Linked DNA regions of Homo sapiens: region 2 is linked to region 1. Evidence: promoter capture Hi-C in 16 types of primary human blood cells and fetal thymus (Javierre and others, 2016). All regions are on one chromosome and are shown on one strand. The core of a region is centred on a gene start or on the middle of the fragment in contact, and the rest is flanking DNA. Distances in the headings are between cores, read along the strand shown.

The links. Contacts are between HindIII fragments. The CHiCAGO score rates a contact against its expected background, and 5 or more counts as called.
Region 2: a contact is called between a fragment that was not itself captured here and the fragment with the promoter of SPATA13-AS1 in region 1, in 2 of 17 cell types (total CD8 T cells and naive CD8 T cells). The highest score is 9.9, in total CD8 T cells.

What each region holds. Positions count from the first base shown.
Region 1 is chr13:24,253,184-24,255,883 of GRCh38, reverse strand. SPATA13-AS1 (SPATA13 antisense RNA 1) reads left to right here and starts at 1,445. Exons shown (of 3, transcript NR_046531.1): 1 at 1,445-1,548; 2 at 2,685-2,700. All of the region lies in intron 4 of SPATA13 (spermatogenesis associated 13), which reads right to left. The HindIII fragment of the contact is 5,552 bases long and covers 1-2,700 here.
Region 2 is chr13:25,301,245-25,303,944 of GRCh38, reverse strand. It overlaps NUP58 (nucleoporin 58), which reads right to left and starts at 2,320. Exons shown (of 16, transcript NM_014089.4): 1 at 2,065-2,320. The coding sequence starts at 2,171. RefSeq lists enhancers at 2,025-2,074, 2,185-2,264, 2,425-2,664. The HindIII fragment of the contact is 276 bases long and covers 1,313-1,588 here.

The DNA of each region.
Region 1 (2,700 bases), core at 196-2,695:
CCCAACGTGTCTCAAAATGATGCTTTTACAGCTGGTTTGCTGAGCTCAATTTGTGGGCTTACTGAGCTGGATGCCATTCTAGCACTTCGTTGGTATATAAACCTAAAACCCTCAGTGCATAGAAAGGAAGGAGTTCCAGGACTGGGATGGAAATGCTAGAGATGGTCTATCATGTGAGTCTCACCACCCCTTGGGCTGCATCTCCCATGTGACAGCAGCTTTTATAATTAATGTACTGCTAATCTCTCTAGGCCAGAGATGCTGCTGAGAGATGGTTCCACTGCAATGCAAACCTGGTCCTCCATGGGGGTGGGACATCTGTCATGGGAAAAAGGTGGGCATAGTTACTATACCACACAGCAGGGCCAGCTTGGTCATCTGAATGGTTTGACCTGTGAAATCTCTGGTTGTGCTGTTAACTGATCTCGGGGTCCCCAGGAACAAAACAGATGAGTGATTCCACAAAGGTACCACAACATTGTGTAGGAGGAACTCTCCAGGGCTGGCAAGCAGAGCCCGACCTGAGCCACCATGACAGAGAAGACAAGGGAGGGCCCTCACTCAACTCCCAGACTCAGGCCTCTTGATGGAGCAGAGCCAGGGAGCCTCAGGGTAGGCATCCTACTACAAGTCTTCTTCCTAGCTTCTCAAAGAGAACTCCTACCATCAGCCTGGTGACTGTGTCCTCAGGACAGGGAAACTCCCGGCGGCAAATGTAAGCAATACTCTTCCCAAGCCTTTCTGAGTAGGAGAGATGGCTTTGGCAAGGCAAGGATTTAGCTCGTGCGCACTCCTGGTTAGGAGCTAATGGCCTGGCTGAATGGCCTGGAGGAATGTGGAAAGAACAAGATGGGCTGAGGATGGGTTTGGGGAAGGAGTATAACTGGCTACCTCAGAATACCCGCAGAGCATGAGATGATGTCCATCCTACATGAATCCTTATTGCAAGAGAGGCTAATCAATCATCATGTGGACATGCTGTCCCAATGTGCAGCTAGATGCCAGTCTTCCTTCCTAGTCATCTTGATACTTGCTCAGTGGGTTCATAAAAAGGAAAAAAAAAAAGAAGCAAGCAAGAAAAAGGCCATGGTGGCAAAAATGGATGCCAAGCCTGGGCTAAACCACAGGAAGTCTGGGCCTTCCCCTCAACAAAGCTGATGATACGGTTCCCCGCAGGAACCAGACAGCCCCTTGCGGAAAGCTGATTGCAGTGGGGCCTTTTCATAATAGAGGGGGTGGTGATTTGTCCCTACTGGAAGGGCCACTTATGCTGGGCTTGGATTTGTTTTCCTGCACTCTGTGGATCCTCTAGAAGGCCCCTATCCTGTCGCAGCATCTCACACGCCATCCAGGCCCAGAACGTCACAGAGAAGGAAGCACATGACCCCATCACACCCAATAACAACCAAATAAAAATGAAGTTACAGAGGCAGCTGGGAGACACACCCAGAAGTTGCCATACTGCCCTGGATGGGACGCAAGCTCTGAAGCAGTGACTAATTTGGAGAGGCTGGCCCACAGCAGAAGATGCAGGGCCGGAAACCAAGGGTAAACATAGAAGCGGCTTCTTAGGATTACTTAATAATATACTTGCAAAATGTTTTCTTCCCACCTAGGAACTCTGCTCTGTTGAAACTGAATTTAGTGCCCAAGGGAGAAGTACTTCCTCCAGAGTTCACAGTCCTGGCCACAGTGAATCAGAACCAAGGCTGGCCATTTTTGCCTCTTCGTACCACTGGGAAAATGAGCACCCACGGAAAATGGGGATGGCTTTTGTGGTCACTGCTACCATATTTCTCAAATGGACTAATGCAATCGCCTTCAAATCAATCTCCATTCCTCTTCCTTTCCCCCCACAAACTGCCCTCCCTCTCTAAGCATAAACCGGAACATAATATGCTCCTGCTGCCAATGGCTTCACACCACACTTAGAACAAGCTCAGCCTCCTCATGACCTGCAGAGCCCTTTCCAGCCTCAGCCCACCTCCCAGCCTGCAACATCCTCGTCTGCCTCTTGCTCCCTGAGCTCCTGTCACTGTGGCCTCCTTGCTGAACCTCAGACACATCATGTTTCCTGCCTGTCTTTGGGCTTCTGGTGCTCCTTCGGCTAGGACTTCTCCTCCCTCGGATCTCTGCCTCACTGCCTCCTACTCACCTGTCCCCAGCGTCACCTCCTTGGAGAGGAGGCTATCTCCCCCACCTGCTCCTACTCCTCACATTACCCAAAGTCATCTTCTGCAGGGCCGTCACTGGTGCCTTGGTGCATCCTACATATTGACTTATGGAATCTGTTCAAATGCTGAAATGTAAACTTTGCATGACGTTTTATTCTCCACAGCATCCCAAATTCTCTATTTCCTTCCTTTCCCTGCCTTGCCATTCTGGTAGGGATGTGTTGCTTAAATCTGCCTCTAGTTAATCAACGCTGAAGAGGCACTGCATGGAACTGGAGGACTAGTTATCCTAAGAGGTCCTAGACTTGGAGGTGTCTGCTGCCACTGATGAGGATCTGGGTGTCTCCTTCTAGGGAAGAGAGAGAGGGTTCATGGAACAGGTGCATCCTGTTCATTAGAGTGTCATTAGAATAACACTCTTTGGAAATGAATGCTCTCTATCCTGTTTTATTTTTCTTTATAGTACTGTCTGCTCTGTTAAATACTTACTTGGCCTGTCTTCACATATAGAAGGCAAGGGTCCCTG
Region 2 (2,700 bases), core at 201-2,700, 1.0 Mb before region 1:
TTTCATTAATTTATCCAAGCCTCTCTAAAACTTGGGTAATTTTTTATAGCTTATTACTAATAACTCATTTGCTCAGTCATTCAAATTGTTATTAAAGCCCTTTTTCTATGCCAGGCACTGTCCTTGGGACTGACAATGAGGTGGGAAATTAAGACTCAGACCTTGCCCTCAGGCAGTTTCTAGTCAGTGAGAGACATAGGTATTAATTATTCTAGTGCTGAGATCTGACAACAAACAAGTTAACAATAAATATAACAAACTGATTACAATTGTGATCAGCACTCTAAGAGTACTAGGAGAATGGAAATCTCCCCTAGACTGACAGGTCAGAAAAGGCCTCTCTGGGGAAGAGACCATTTGATATTTGCAAGGAAGGGGCTGGCAAAGCCCACTTGAAAAGAGAAAAGGCCATGTTGCTAGGACAGGCTTTCTAAGATCAGGACCATGAGAGAAATATAAAAATTAATTCATCAAGTCATAAGCAACATTAAAAAAAAAAAGAAATAGAAAATATCAAAGTGCATCCCATGAAGTAAGGGTATCTTTCTCTGAAACTTCATTTCAGTTATTTAGGGTGGTAGTTGTGTGTTTGTTTTTAACAGTGGGTCTGCATAGCTAAAATAAAAAGATGGGCTCAAGATGAGTCCCGCTCAAGATGAGTCCCCAGAGGTTCCAGCAGAAGTGGACCTTGCAGACTATGGTAAGTTTTTTTTTCTTTTTTAAACTTCATTCTAACGATGGCGGGTAATGATTAAAGAGAGAGCAATGGGAATTTTGTTTTTCAATTACTCTGGCTAAAATGTGGCAGAACAGATTGAAGAAGTTGATTGGAGTAGTTTTCATCTAAAACAAGAAAGACAGCTGGTTAAAAATCTGACAAGAATCAAAATTATTTTCATAAGAATGTAAGGATCAAGAGAGCAAGACTCTTAATACCTAAAACAGAGCCTTGCACATGGGAATCTGTCCAATAAATATTTGTTCCACGAATGACAATAGCCTAAGCAGGGTTGTGGAACTGGAAATAAAGACAAACAGAAATGGCAGAAGTAACATTATCAGAACCTGTTGTTGAGCGAGTAGAGTAAGAATAACGGAGGTATGGATGAAAATTCAAATTTCTGAATTGACTGTGTAGTCCGTGGTTCCTCCTCCCTCCCTTTTTAAACTGCAGGTCATGCTTAAGTATTTGCCTTTTAAATCTACAGCCACATCTTTTAAGCTTCAGGAAGTATCTTGTTGACAGTGTGCACACTCCTTAACTTTATGAACCCCTCCACCTTTATCTTAAAAAAAATTGAGTTCTAAAGCTTAAATCTCTCATTAAAATGTCTCACCACTTTGTTTCTTTCTGGATAGTTATGTTTTTGTCGCCACCTGAACTAATGGGTTGCACAAAAACAAGGAACATGCTACCTACGTTTTGTAATTTAAGTAAAAGACAAATTGAGTTATTACAACACAACATTCTCGCATCAGATATACTAATCTGCACATACTGCAGAAAATTACCACTAATAAACACTGTAAAAAAGTGTTTTTGTTTTTTTTAACAAAAACAGATAAGGTCCCATGTGGCACAAAAGCTTGAAAAGCTGGTTAAAAACCACAAAGTTATTAAAACACCGTCATATCCAAAACCGCAAATGCTGCAATGAAATCGGAATTATCTATCATAAAACTCCACAGTATGCTATAATTTCATTCATTCATTCAATGTTCATTCTATGCCTAAGACTGACACATCGCTAAAGCTCCGGGGTAGACCCCAAGGCCCTTCCACGCAGTCAAGACCCCACTAGGTCCAAATAATGCCTGAACTATACGTGGATTCTGGAAACCTCACAGCACAGAACCCATCCCGCCCTCCACTTCACCAGGCCGCGCTGGGCCCGGGTACCGCGGCGAGAGGCCTACGACGCCGGGCGGCTAGATTAAGTGCTTCTCTCCAGCCCCACTGGGAAGGAAGCCAGAGGGAAGAGACAGGATGGGGACACCAAGGGAGCTTTGCGGGGGTGGGGGTGGGGGTGAATCCGGCCCAGGAAGGCGAGAAAGTGCGGTTACCTAGACGCTCCCGTTCCGAAGGAGAAAACGCCGCCTGTGCTGGTCCCGCCGGCGGCCACGGTGGTGGAGCCCAGAGTCCCGGACCCGAAGGAGAACCCTGTGGACATGTCTGGCCAGGGCTCGACGCCGTCAGCAAGGCGAAATGGGTCTGGGACACTTCTCTCGCCTCAAAGCCGAGGCGGGCCGGGCAGCATCTCTCTCGCCCGGCACGGACCTGGCGGGAACTTCCAGCCCCAACGGCGGCGAAGGCAAGGCTGAGGGGGTGGAGCAACCACGCAAAAGTACGCCCGGCGCTCGCCGCGCGCACGTAGCCCGCCGGAAGTGTAACCGTCACGCAATGAGCCCTGGTACGTGAGTGGGGGACGGCGAGCCGCGCAAGGTACGCTGGGACCAGGCGAGAATAGGCGTACTGCCTAATCTCTTAAAGGAGTAGGCTCCCAGAGTTTAAAAACAGTAAAACCATTTCTGTCATTTTTTAGTTCTTCTATCGTAGCATCTGTACTGACATAATCCGCACTTTAGGGTGATGAATGTCAATTGCTACTTCTATCTAGCCTCCTGCCAAAATTGATGCTCAGAATCGCAGAATCGGGGAGGTCCCTCCTGAGCATCTCTAAGCTCCCCACTCAGAAAAGG